Regions from separate parts of the Homo sapiens genome. Here region 2 is linked to region 1. The links are contacts of gene promoters, found by promoter capture Hi-C in human tissues and cell types (Jung and others, 2019). All regions are on one chromosome and are shown on one strand. The core of a region is centred on a gene start or on the middle of the fragment in contact, and the rest is flanking DNA. Distances in the headings are between cores, read along the strand shown.

Region 1 (6,501 bases), core at 3,253-5,752:
AGGGCGTGGAGGGCCGGGCAGAGGGTGGTCAGCACCAGGTGCCCCACATCCGGGCTCAGCCGGCTATCACCCAACTGGGCCTGGAGGTGGCGCGATGCCGATGGCTCCAGAGATCCCTCCAGACACCTCCCAGCCACCTCCCGCCAACCATTCCCGCACCCCCCGCGGAGCTCCATTACTCTCCTCATCCCAACAGCCTCCCCCCAGCCACCTTCACCTTCTGCACCAAGTTCCGGGCGGCCCCGAAATGCGAGATGATTTTATCAACGGAGACGCTGACGGCTATCAGAAGACCTGGGAGGAGTGGGAAAGGGAAGACGCTAGGAGGCCGCGCCCCTACCCAGGCTTGCCCGAGGGGCGTGGAGAGACTGCCTTCGGACAGCCTGAGAGCAGGGCCGGGGGCGAAGGGCAGTTTATTCGGAAGCGCGGGGTCGGGAGTCAGGGTGCCCTACCTTTCTTCTGCTCCTGCAGCTGACCAGTCCCACTCTGGGCTTCTGCCATCCACAGCCGCTGGGCTCCGGGGACACCGGCGAAGGACCACGAACTACGGACTGGCGTAAGGGAAGAAGGGCGCGGTAACACTTACCAAGTGTTATTCCGAGGACTCCGGGCTCCCGCACAAGTTGTCTCCGGCGGGTCTGCAGTGCTGTGTCCCCGAAGGGTCTTGGGGAGAGGAGGCGCAGGACCGCCTGAAGCACGGGGTAGCTCGACCCGAGCCCCGGAGTGAAATCTCGCACACTTCCCAGCACTCGCTGTCCCCCAGCCCCATCCCGGTTCCCTGTGCCCTCCCTCAGGGCACAGCCCCCACCTCCAGGATCCCGGAACTCCGGGAGCGGGATGGCCGCGCTCACCTCCCGCCTGCCCTGCTAGGGCCTGTAGGGCGGGAGAGGACGGGGCGCGGGGAGGGAGGTGTAGCCCAGCGCACCGCCCCGGGGCCCAGTCCTGCCTGCGGAGCCCCGGGGAGCACGTGGGCGGCATGGACCAATGGAAAGACAGACAGGGGAAAGGGAGGAGACGGAGGGAGGCGAGACCCGAGGATTGGGAGGCTGGAAGGCGCCGGAAAGGGGAAACCCGGGTCCCGCAGCAGCCTCTTGGCGGAGGGTGCCCTCTTCATCCCGCGTGGGACTGGACTCGCGGAGAGGGCGTGGCCAGAACCTCTAGTGCCAATGAGCTCCCGGGAGCTTCACCCTCCACCCCTCCCTAGCAAGGTCGGGGGGCAGGCCCGAGCTGCACAGGCCAAGGAATTCCACAGAGGGTGTGACCCAAAGCCCCTAACAACAGACTCGCTGGGACCCCCTAGACTTGGCATGGAGGCTGGGTAAGCCCGCGTCCACTATGCCCAGGTGGGTCTGGAGGGAGAGGGGGCCGGCCCACGGAGCAGGAAAGGCAACAACTTCCCCCTCCAGCACTAGGAACGGGGCCAGACTCCCCAAGGCCGACAAACTTGCTTGGAGTCGGCTTAAACTGAAGGGCGGGACTAAGCTGGGCAACCCCGGAAAAAAAGCGAAAACGGGGCCGGGCGAGAGTGGGCGGGGCGGCCCGCCTGAGGCGTGGCCCGCGGGGCTAGCCCGGGTCCGTCTTACGTAGCCTGGGCGGAGGCGATGGGCTCCTGGTCCAGCGAGGGGCCTTCGGCGGACGAGGTTGCGGTGGCAGCGGGGGGGCGGGTACCTGGCGGGGTGGGGGAGCCGCGGCGGGGAAGGTGCTACTTCTGGGAAAGAGCGGGGACAGCAGCAGTGCCAGCTCGGGGCTGGCCAGGCAGGGCAAGGCTCCCCGAGTCGGAGGCGAATAGGCTCCCACCGGGGACAGGCGGACGGGCAGCAGCTGCTCCTCTGGGGGGCTCGGCGCCCCCAGCAGCCGCAGCCCGGCGCCGGGCCACCCGGCCAGAGGAGCCAGGAGCAGAGACCCAGCTGCGCCTGCGCCCCCACCCTCCAACAGGGGGCGCCCGTCGGCCGAGAACCGGAAAACCAGGGGCCGAGGGAGCAGGAGGGGACCGGCTGCAGGCGGGATTGGCGGGGCCAGGCGCAGAGGGAAGGAGGGCAGCGGGATGGGCAGCCAGGCAAGAAGGGGCGGGAAGAAGAGGGAGCAAACAGTTAGTCCCATAACCCAATGACCCACCCAGTTTCCCTTTCCCGGAGCGCTCCCTGGTAGAAGGGGCGGGGAGGATGGGTGACACAGAATGGAGGGAAGACAGGGGGCCGGGTTGGAAGCCTAGGAGGCGTGAGCGGCCGAAGCCCAGCCCTCCTCCCGCTTCTTGCGACCTCTTACCCTCCAGGCCGGCCTGCGCGCCCGGCTCCTTCGCGGCTGGGGCCTCCTCGCCAGCCGCTGGGCTGACAGCCCGGCCCTCCTCGGACTGCCCCTCCGCTATGGGCTGCAGTCCAGGTCGGTTCTTCTTCCTTCGGGGAGGGACAGGCGGGGGTGGGGGCCGGGGCGGGACCAAAGCCCAGCCAACTGGGGGGTCTCGAGGCGGGACTGGCGGGGCTGGGGCCCGGCTTCGGGACCGGAGTTCCTTGAAGGTGGTGACTTCCCGAGGAGGTGCCGAGGAGCCGCCCGGCGACCCCGAGGGGGGGAGCTCGGTGTCGGGCGAGAAGACTATGAGCCAGTCACTGCGATCTTTCTTCGCCTGCGGGACAAGGGGCAGCCCTGGGCCCCGCTTGCGCTTCTGGGCCAGCTCGTGGAAGGACGTGATTGTCCGGTGGGGCACCGGCTCCTCGCTGACGTCACTTCTCCATCCTCCATCAATTTTCCCTGCATCTGTTTTCGAGCCAGAATCAGTTATTCTTGTGTTGGTTTTCCAACCAGAGTCGAATTTTTCAGGTTCACTTTTCCAGCTAGAGTTAACATTCCCGTTGTTTTTCCAACCAGTGTTATTGTTTTCAGTGGTTTTCCATTCAGCTTTAGTTTTCTCTGTGTCAATTTTCCAAATTGGGTTAATCTTCCAACTGGGCTCCGTTTTCCCAGCGTCGATTTTCCCATCATCCGCCTCTAAGAGCTCAGAGGTAGGGAGATCCTGCTCCGCCCTCTCGTCCTCTTCCTCCAAGCCTGGGGAAGGGACGTCCTGGCAGGTGGTCAGGGCGTTGCAGTTCGAGTCCAGGCCAGGATCGGGTGAAGAAGAAGCTCCGGAGCAGGAATCAGGAGAGCAGCAGAAGCTGTCCGGTGAGCAGGTGCCAGGGCCTGCTGAAGCCAGTGGGGAGCCCTGCTCCAGGGGGATGATACTGGGCTGAGGGTGGGCATCCTCATCACCAGGGAGGTCCCGCAAGTAGACTGAGACAGGGGACTCATCGGGGCTAAGATCTGAGCAGGAGCTGAGTGAGGAGGAGCAGCCTGGGTCTGAGGGAGAGGCAGCCCCCTCTTCCTCCTGTGACGGGTCCTGCCGGTTTTCTAGGCCCGGACCGTGCTCCTGGCAGCACCGGCAGGGCACAGCTGGGCTGTTGGAATTGGCGTCCACCAGGGTGCCACTGCAGGGGCCCCTGCTCTCCTTGCCCCCAGTGTCTCCTGGAGGAGGGGGTGTGCTCAAAGGCCCCTCCTGTAGCTCAGGACGGCGGGACAAGTGCAGGCCCAGGGAGACGTGCTGGAGGTGGATGTGGTTGAGGTTGCAGAGTAAAGCTCTCTGAGGGGACAGCATGATGCTAGCGGCGATGGGATGGCTTCTAGAGAACCAGAAGGGTAGGGTCTCTCACATCCACCTACCTGGCAACCACAGGTGCAGACCTAGAAGACAGAGGTGGTGAAGCCCGGCCAGTGAGGACAAGAGCTGCGGGGAAGGACACCGAGGTGACTTGACGGCAGCAGCAGGCCTGAAGGCTCTGGCTGCTTTGGAAGATATTTCAATGAGATGCAAATCGCAATCGACTGACCATTAGTTTCCACTGCAGTGTTTGCAGATGGAGTCGAATGTAACCCCCCGGGAATGGAGCCGGGAGGGTCAGAGAACGCGGCTGCGCTCTGGATCTCCGAAGGGGGGCGGGGGCCTGGAAGAGGTCCGGGCCCAGAATGGACCTCCAGGTCCCTGCTGCCGCAATCTGGCCCTGCCCTCCAGCCTACCCCTTACTCCCAGAGGAAGGGACCCAGGGAGACCCACCCAGATGCCCTGAAAGGAGGTGGAGGATGGGGGTGGGGCAATACGCAGAGTTTGTCTGGTGAATGCAGGAAAGGGGTGGGGGCTGGAGAGGAAAAGGATGGAGCAGCCGTCAGCTTGTCAACTCCGCATCTGCTGGCTGCCTCGGCCGGGCTCCAGCCTGCGCCCTCGCCCCTCGGAACAGCGGTATGTCCATTCTCTCCGCATTCGTCTCCATCGTTCAGCCACCACCGCACCCTTTCTCTATTCATTTCTCCTGCTCCCTTGTCCTGCCCCGCCCCTCGTGCCCAGGTCCATCGGTCTACACCCATGGGCCGAGCCCTCCTCACCAGGGTCCTCCTGGAACCGCTCCGGCCTTGGGCTTGTCCGCGGCTCCCACGGTCCCCGCCCGGCGGGGCACAGAGCGGGAGGGGAGGGGCACTAGCACAACCTACCCTGCGCTGCGCAGCTGCACCCCTTCGCGCATGGGCGTGGCGTAGCTCAGACCCGCCCCCAGCGTTTAGCGTCTTTTGTCACCCACCTAGAGGGTTTGATATATCCTAAGCTTTTGGCCCCTGGGTCCTGGTTCCGTGCAGCGAGTCCTCCCAGCACCCCACCCTGCACATTCTGGAAAGAGCCAGACTCTGGCTGGGCCGAGCAAGAACAGAACCACAAGAAGGTTACACGATTATTTATTGAGAGCCTCCTCTCCCCGCCCTTGCAATCTCTAGGTCACTTTCTCCGCTTGTAGATTTTGCGCGCAAGCCCCAGAAAGACGGCTGGGGGCAGGGGTGCTGCGTACTGTTCAATGAGAGCCATAATGTGGCTGTAACTGTCTTCCTCATATTGCAAGAACACTGCTGGCAGATCCAGCTCCTCATATAGCGCCTTCACCCGGGCCACTTTCTCAGCCTCCTTCTGCCCGTAATTTTCCTGGAAGAGGTTGAAAGACAGGAAAACGGGCTTGGCCTTCCCCAGAGCCTCCAGGACCCCTCCACTCCCCTCATTCACATATTCCAGAACATCTCCAAAGCCACCCACTCCTTTCCTCCCTCCAATTTTCAAGTGTCTCTACGTAGCTAAAATCCCAAGCTTCCCTTCCCTATCCCAAATATTGCCTCATACCAGGCATCCTCTACTCCAGGGTTTCTCCACCTTGGCACTATTGAAATTTGGGACCAGATAATCCTGTCTGGGGGAGCTGTTCTGTGTACTACATGTTTGGCAACATCTTTGGCTCCTGCCAACTAGATGTCTGTACCACATGCACACACACAGAGTTGTAATGACAATGGCAAAAAATGTCTGCTGACATTGCCAAATGTCCCCTCGGGAGGAAAACTGCCTCTAGTTGAGAACCACTGCTCTATCCCTTTCCACCAACTCAGGGACCCACCACCCTCTCTCAGGCACCTTCAGGATCTGGTACTGTTCTGGAGTGGCCCGTTGCAGACACTGAACCACCAGCCAGCTGCATTTGTTGTCCTGGATGTCAGTGCCAATTTTGCCGGTCACACTGGGGTCCCCAAAGAGGTCAAGGTAATCATCCTGGGCAGGGAGGGGGAGGGCAGCAAAAGAGGAAGGATGAGGTTCCTGGGCAGAGGAGGAGTGAAGCTGGTGCCTGTTCTCTGCTACTGCCTCCTGCCTTCTTACCTGAATCTGAAAGAACTCCCCCATCTCCAGCAGGATCTTCTTGGCATTGGCGTGCTCCTTCTCGCCATCAATTCCTGCCTGCAGGGAAAGGGGGGTTAATAAGCCAAACCCCAGGGGTGCCGGCATCTTCCTGGCTGCTTCCTCCCATGGGGTCTTGCCCTACTGCAGCCCCAAATCTTTCCTCTCTCTTCAGACATCTTGGCTTCCCTGACCTAGACAGTCCTGACTGATGGTCCAACCTCAATCCCACTTATTTTTGGCTAGGCCTTCCTGGGAGTCATAAAAGAGATGAATCCATTCTAGAGGTGCACAGCCTGTCTCTTCCCTCACAAATGTCAGTCCCCAAGTCATTCTGATCCACCTTCCTAATATTTTTGCCACCTCCAACTTCTTTCAAGATGAAAAGGAAATGTAGAGAAGCAAGGTCAGGGTAGACACTTAATCCCACTGACTGTCTTTAATCCACTCTTCTCCCTCTCAACCTGGATGATCTCCACACTCCTATCCATACTCAGATACAGGATATATTGTTCCCCTATTATGTGCTAAGCACTTTCATATCCCTTGCCTTGCTTAATCTTTACAGTCCTGTGAAGTAGGAATTTTATCCCCAGCTGAGGAAAGAGACTGAGCGAGACCGACTTGCTCAAGGTCACACAGTTTTTCACCAGGGGTAGCAGTGTTCACGTTTTCTGCTCTATGCCTTGCTGTCCAAAAGCCCCCATCAGCAGAGCAGAGAGGGGTGAGGAGGCTCACTCACCATGTACATGGCTGCAGCTATAGGAAGGTAGAAG
Region 2 (7,249 bases), core at 4,709-7,208, 290 kb before region 1:
AAATTTCAGTTGCAAGATTCTCTTTCCTGACCCCTGGCTTTTGAATGCTACAGCTACAGAGGGCCCCTAGAGCATCCGAAGAGAGGTAAACAGGATTAAAAAAAGAGAGAGAGATAATTAAGGCTGGGTGTGGTGGCTCACATCTGTAATCCAAGGACTTTGGGAGGCCGAGGCAGGTGGATCACTTGAGGTCAGGAGTTCAAGACCAGTTTGGCCAACATGGTGAAACCCCATCTCTACTAAAAATACGAAATTAGCCGAGTGTGTTGGCACATGCCTGTAATCCCATTTACTCAGGAGGCTGAGGCAGAAGAATCACTTGAACCCAGTGGAGGTTGCAATGAGCCAAGATTGTGCCACTGCACGCCAGGCTGGGCAACAGAGTGAGACTCTGTCTCAGAAAAAAAAAAAAAAAGAGATAATTAGCTCAGCATGGTGGTGGGTGCCTGTAATCCCAGCTACTTGGGAGGCTGCGGCAGGAGAATTGCTTGAACCCAGGAGGCAAAGGTTGCGGTGAGCCGAGATCAGCTCCATCTCAAAATAAAAAATAAAAAAATAGGCCACGCGCGGTGGCTCATGCCTGTAATCCCAGCATTTTGAAAGGCCAAGGCGGGTGGATAACCTGAGGTCAGAAGTTTGAGACCAGCCTGGCCAACATGGCGGAACCCCATCTCTACTAAAAATTCAAAAATTAGCCAGGTATGGTGGCATGTGCCTGTAATCCCAGCTACTAGCAGGGCTGAGGCAGGAGGATCGCTTGAACCAAGGAGGCGGAGGTTGCAGTGAGCTGAGATAGGCTCCATCTCAAAATAAAAAATAAAAAAATAGGCCAGGCGTGGTGGCTCACGCCTGTAATCCCAGCATTTTGGGAGGCCAAGGTGGGTAGATTACCTGAGGTCAGGAGTTCGAGATCAGCCTGGCCAACATGGTGAAACCCCGTCTCTACTAAAAATACAAAAATTAGCCGGGCATGGTAGCATGTGCCTGTAATCCCAACTATTAGGGGGGCTGAGGCAGAAGAATCGCTTGAACCCTAGAGGCAGAGGTTGCAGTGAGCCAAGATCGTGCCACTGCACCCCAGCCTGGGCAACAAGAGTGAGATTCCATGTCAAAAAAATAAATAAAAAATAACAAAATAAAAATAAAGAGATAATGTCAGCCGGGTATTTTGGCTCACACCTGAAATCCCAGCATTTTGGGAGGCCAAGGCCGATGGATGGCTTGAGCTCAGGGTTTCAAGGCCAGCCTGGACAACATAGCAAAACCCCGCCTCTACAAAAAATAAAAAGATTAGCTGAGTGTGGTGGTGCACACCTGTGGTCCCAGCTACTTGGGAGGCTGAGGTGGGAAGACTGCTTGAGCCTGGGAGATTGAGGCTTCACTGAGCCATGATTCCTCCACTAACACTCCAGCCTGGGTGACAAGGGCAAGAACTTGTCCCCCCCCCCCCAAAAAAAAAGAGAGAGACAGTGTCTCGGCCATGCACGTGGCTCACACCTGTAATCCCAGCACTCCAGGAGGCTGAGGTGGGAGAATCCCTTGTAGCCAGGAGTTTGAGACCAGCCTGGGCAACACAGGCCCCAGGGATCCTCCTGACTCAGCCTCCCAAATAGCTGGGGCTACAGGTGCACACCACAACATCTGCCTAATTTTTAAGTTTTTTTGTAGAGATGGAGTCTCGCTATGTTGCCCACGCTGGTCTTGAACTCCTGGCTTTTTTTTTTTTTTTTTTGAGATGGAGTCTTGCTCTGTCACCCAGGCTAGAGTGCAGTGGTGTGATCTCAGCTCACTGCAACCTCCACCTCTCGGGTTCAAGTGATTCTCCTGCCCCAGCCTTCTGAGTAGCTGGGATTACAGGCACCTGCCACCGCGCCCAGCTAATTTTTTTGTATTTTTTAGTAGAGACGGGGTTTCACCATCTTGGCCAGGCTGGTCTCGAACCACTGACCTCATGATCCACCCACCTTGGCCTCTCAAAGTGCTGGGATTACAGGCATGAGCCACCGCACCCGGCTAAACTCCTGGCTTTAAACGATCCTCCTGCTTTGGCCTCCCAAATGGTGGGATTACAGGCATGAGCCACCTTGCAAGGCCTGAAAATTCTTCGTAATGTAAGCTCTAAAGTATTACATGAGTTTGAGTGTCTCATTTCACATCCATAATACAGCAAACAACATGAAATATATACATCTCTTGAAGCTGTTGCTCACATCTTAATTGCTTTGGGTGGCTACCCACCAGTGGCCCAAGGTGGATGGAGGTTAGGGTTTTAAATTAGATCTCAATAGTTGTAAACTAGAATTTTAAACCAGGGTTCTGTCATCTCTTGTGTCCTAGTCCACTAGTTCTTATCCTTAGAACCCTCAAGTCCTGCTCTAGCTGTATCATGACTCCTCTTTTGCCCACTTTCCACTCTGGTAGTTTGAGGAGCAGCAGGCTTTTGAGAAGAGCCGCAAGTTCCTTCGGCAGCTGGAGATTTGCTTTGCAGAGAACCCCTCACACCACCAGAAGATTATCAAGGTCCTCCAAGGCTGTGCAGACTGCCTTCCCCAGGAGATCACCGAGGTATTCTTTCCTGTCCTGCTTTCTTCCTGTTGTCTTCCGGGCCTTAGGCCTTTCCCTTGTCTCTTTCCCCAACCTACTCCATACCTTTTTGCCTCTGGAGGCTCATGGGCTTCCTGGAGGAGATGAAAAAGGCAAGGACTTTTCAGGCTCACCCAAAGCATAAAGCACTGGGATAGGGAGGGATTGCTACCTGAAACCGGAGCCTGTCTGATCTTCACAGGCTCAGGAATGCCATGGATGTGCTGGAAGGGATGTTCAGCGAAGGAGGTTCTGGGACCTGGGAGGGGCCTTACCTCCTTGCTCTGCTTGGAATAGTGCCCTAGCTGGAGATCAGTAGGGTGGAGTGGAGAGTGGAATCATTAGGAATCAAATCCAGTATTAATACCCTTCCCCTGGCCGGATGTGGTGGCTCACACCTGTAATCTGAACACTTTGGGAGGCAGATCACCTGAGGTTGGGAGTTGGAGACCAGCCTGAACAACATGGAGAAACCCTGTCTCTATTAAAAATACAAAATTAGCTGGGCATGGTGGTGCATGCCTGTAATCCCAGCTACTCGGGAGGCTGAGGCAGGAGAATCGCTTGAACCTGGGAGGCAGAGGTTGCGGTGAGTGGAGATCGCACCGTTGCACTCCAGCCTGTGCAACATGAGCGAAACTCCAGCTAAAAAAATAAATATATAAATAAATACATAAATAAATAAAACAAAATAAAATCTTTGGAGCAGTAGCTAGGCAAAGGGGCACTCAGGAGGCTCACACCAGAAGATCACTACTTGAGCCCAGGAGTCTGAGGCTATAGTGTACCACTATGGTCATACCTGTGTAAACAGGCACTGCACTCCAACCTGGGCAAGATAATTTGTGTTATCTGTGAGACCTTGTCTCTTTTTTTTTTTTTTTTTGAGGTGGAGTCTCACTTTCGTCCAGCCTGGAGTGTAGTGGCACAATCTCAGCTCACTGTAACCTCTGCCTCCTGGGTTCAAGCAATTCTCATGCCTCAGCTTCCCAAGTAGCTGAGACTACAGGCCCCCGCCACAACATTCCGCTAATTTTTGTATTTTTAGTAGAGATGGGGTTTCACCATGTTCACTAGGCTAATCTGGAACTCCTGACCTCAAGTGATCCCTGCCCTCGGCCTCCAAAGTACTGGGATTACAGGTGTAAGCCACCACACCTGGCCTCTTTTTGTTTGTTTCTTTTTGAGACAGGGTCTCGCTATGTTGCCCAGGCTGATCTTGAACCCTTGGGCTCAAGTGATCCTCACACCTCAGCCTCCCAAGTAGCTGGGTTTACAGGCATGTACCATTGCACCCAACTGAAACCCTTTCTCTTAAAAAAACAAAATTGTTGGAGCAGATATGCATGTGGGTTGACTTGGTGAGCATCAGGCAGGGCTTCTTCCTTTGGTGGGCCCCAAAGGCATAGGCGGTCAGGACACCTTTGACCCAGAAGATCATCCCTGTGGGTCTGTGACAGCAAATCCTACAAGAGCAAGGAGCCCCATGAAGCCACCCAGAACAGGACTGTCAGGACCACCAGAAAGAGAGATGCCTATTTCAGGTGAGTGATCTGCCAACCCAGCCCTTCTGTTTTTCAGTCTCGTTCTTCTATACCCCAGACAGGAACCTCCATGAGCCTGGATAAATAACACCCTTTTCAGGGATGGACATACCACCTCTTTCACTGATGGACCCATAAGAAGCCCTTCTCCTGTTCAGGCTTTTTCTATCCTATGGCCTCACTCCTCTTGCAGAATTAAGAGTGTGTGGCCGGGCGCAGTGGCTCACGCCTGTAATCCCAACACTTTGGGAGGCCGAGGTGGGTGGATCACCTGAGGTCAGGAATTCAAGACCAGCCTGGCCAACATGGTGAAACCCCATCTCTATTAAAAATACAAAAAAAAAAAAAAATAGCTGGGCCCGGTGGTGGGCACCTATAATCCCACCTACTTGGGAGGCTGAGGCAGGAGAATCCCTTGAACCCCGGAGGCGGAGGTTGCCATGACCTGAGATCACGCTACTGTACTCCAGCCTGGGCAACAAGACCAAAAATCTCTCAAAAAAAAAAAAAAAAGTGCTACAAATTTCACATGATTCAACATTGTCTTGTGTTTTATTCCTAAAACCCTTCCCCCATCTCTAAATCTAGTGTAATCTACATCCTAAAGACTGGGCCGTTCTCAGCTTTGGCAGTAGGACTTTATATCTTTGCATAAGTGACATTATGCCCACCATCTCCACCCAACTCCTTTATTATTTATATTTTCTTGCAGAGATGGGGTCTCACCATATTGCCCAGGCTAGTCTCAAACTCCTGGCAGTCCCACCACTTTGGCTTCCCAAAGTGCGGACGTTATAGGTGTGAGCCACCATGCCCAGCACTCTTTTTTATTAGAATTTTTGCACAGTACCTGGCCACAGGTAATTTCTCGTGCTTAGGTGCATCTTGATCCTCACAGTACCCTGGGATCCTTATTTTCCTCCTAAGCAGGATTGGCAGTGGGGGGCACTTTGCCATCCCCTCGAGAAGTGACTCTTACAGAACGGCTCCTCCTGGATGGCCCACCACCTCATTCACCAGAGACTCCTCAATTTCCCCCCACAACTGGAGCTGTACTGTACACTGTTAAGAGAAACCAGGTTGGGCCTGAGGTTCGCTCCTGCCCCAAGGCATCCCCCAGACTTCAGAAAGAGAGGGAGGGCCAAAAGGCAGTGAGTGAGTCAGAGGCTTTGATGCTGGTCTGGGATGCATCAGAAACTGAGAAATTGCCTGGTACCGTGGAACCCCCTGCTTCCTTCCTGAGTCCTGTTTCCTCAAAGACCAGAGATGCAGGGAGAAGACATGTGTCCGGGAAACCAGACACTCAAGAGAGATGGCTGCCCTCAAGCAGAGCTAGGGTGAAGACAAGAGACAGGACGTGCCCTGTCCATGAATCTCCATCAGGAATTGACACCTCAGAGACTTCTCCCAAAGCCCCTAGAGGGGGTTTGGCTAAAGACAGTGGAACACAGGGCAAGGGTCCAGAGGGGGAACAGCAGCCAAAGGCCACAGAAGCTACGGTGTGTGCCAATAACAGCAAGGTCAGCTCCACTGGGGAAAAGGTTGTCCTGTGGACAAGGTAGGTAAGGGTGGATGATGTGTGTTTGGAAAAGAGCATAGACCACATCCATGTGGCTCCCTAGGGTTAATCATGATACCTGGGTTACAGGGAAGCTGACCGTGTGATCCTCACCATGTGCCAGGAGCAAGGGGCACAGCCACAGACCTTCAGCATCATCTCCCAGCAGCTGGGAAATAAGACCCCTGCTGAGGTAGGTGCGGGTTGGGGTGAAGACCTGGCAAAAAGAGGTCAAGGTGGCCAACTAAGAGACAGAAAGGCCAAAGAAGGAGTTTTCATATCCAAGATAAGTGGTTTTTGTAAAGGTTTGATCTAAGGAAAGGCTTGACTCATCAGGGTGGTAGTGGTTCTAGGAGAAGAGAAAGGACACTGCATTTTTAGGTGGAAGCCCGTTTCCATTCTAGCTTTTTTTTTTTTTTTGAGCCAGAGTCTTGCTCTGTCGCCCAGGCTGGAGTGCAGTGGCATGATCGTGGCTCACTGCAACCTCCACGTCCCAGGTTCAAGCAATTCTCCTGCCTCAGCCTCTCGAGTGGCTGGGATTACAGGTGCCCACCACCCAGCCAATTTTTCTATTTTTAGTAGAGATAGGGCTTCACCATGTTGGCCAGGCTGGTCTCGAACTCCTGACCTCAAGTGATCTACCTGCCTCGGCCTCCCAAAGTGCTGGGATTACAGGTGTGAGCCACTGTGCCCGGCCATTCTAGTTTTGTTTTTAGGAGTCGTGTGACTTTGGGCAAAACATTTAGCCTCTTGAGTTTCCTTATCTATAGTGACATAGCTCTCTCAACCTTGCTGTGTGGAATAAACAAAAGATTTTGCAAATCAATATATAGTGCTTCATAAATGTTAACATGTTACTAAGGATCAGTGAATACAGCCCTCCTCCTTTCTTAGGTTTCCCACCATTTTCGAGAACTCATGCAGCTCTTCCACACTGCCTGTGAAGCCAGCTCTGAGGATGAGGATGATGCAACCAGTACCAGCAATGCAGACCAGCTGTCTGACCATGGGGACCTTCTGTCTGAAGAGGAGCTGGATGAATGAGACTCTGGGAATCATCTACACAGGACCAAACCCAACAGGCGCCCTGGCACCGGGGAGGCGGGTAGTTGTACTCTGCTTGTACAGTCCTTGAGCCCAGTTTACAGATCTGGAGAGCAGGAGGCCAGGACAAGGACAAAGGCTGGAGGATGGAGTAGGACCCAGGGGCTCTGCCATCCTAGGCATCATTCAAGGTCTTTTATGAAGACTTTACAGATGTCCTCTGTAAGTAGCATCGAGAGTGGAGTTCAGCTCCTTTCTCTACTTTTTTTTGGTCTGATGGCACATATTTATTGTTCTGTGGTCTAATCACAGTGTTTCTAAATGTAAAAAGTGCATATGTTGGTGTAGCTAGTCCCGCGACATTGAGCTCCTCTGCATGAAGACACTGGGCTCCTGCATCCAGCTGTTTTTATTGCAAACTAGCTCCTTTCTCCCACACTGGGAACTTTAGTCCACGAGGCTGTCACCACCCTGGTAGCACTGGGCCAGGCTTTGTAGCTCCTGCAGCAGCTCTGCTACG

Evidence for each region. The method cuts DNA at HindIII sites, captures the fragments that hold promoters and counts their contacts. A contact is called where the count stands out against the background at its distance.
Region 2: a contact is called between a fragment that was not itself captured here and the fragment with the promoter of RUSC1 in region 1, in 1 of the 25 tissues and cell types used here (dorsolateral prefrontal cortex).

Annotation. Positions count from the first base shown.
Region 1 is chr1:155,318,895-155,325,395 of GRCh38, reverse strand. RUSC1 (RUN and SH3 domain containing 1) reads right to left here and starts at 4,502. Exons shown (of 10, transcript NM_001105203.2): 1 at 4,405-4,502; 2 at 2,266-3,708; 3 at 453-551; 4 at 218-294; 5 at 1-80. The coding sequence starts at 3,622. FDPS (farnesyl diphosphate synthase) reads right to left here. Exons shown (of 11, transcript NM_002004.4): 8 at 6,468-6,501; 9 at 5,708-5,785; 10 at 5,468-5,602; 11 at 4,731-4,987. The coding sequence ends at 4,787. RUSC1-AS1 (RUSC1 antisense RNA 1) reads left to right here and starts at 1,220. Exons shown (of 6, transcript NR_145424.1): 1 at 1,220-1,318; 2 at 2,959-3,153; 3 at 3,701-3,771; 4 at 5,464-5,593. RefSeq lists enhancers at 431-640, 2,812-3,795 and silencers at 651-700, 721-1,090, 1,431-1,630, 1,671-1,900, 4,411-4,560 and 1 more. The HindIII fragment of the contact is 15,399 bases long and covers 1-4,883 here.
Region 2 is chr1:155,614,201-155,621,449 of GRCh38, reverse strand. It overlaps MSTO1 (misato mitochondrial distribution and morphology regulator 1), which reads right to left. Exons shown (of 14, transcript NM_018116.4): 14 at 6,499-7,249. The coding sequence ends at 7,177. It also overlaps the pseudogene LOC100419798. Among named protein-coding and RNA genes, the nearest start is that of MSTO1, 7.6 kb to the right of the region's middle. The HindIII fragment of the contact is 7,084 bases long and covers 2,417-7,249 here.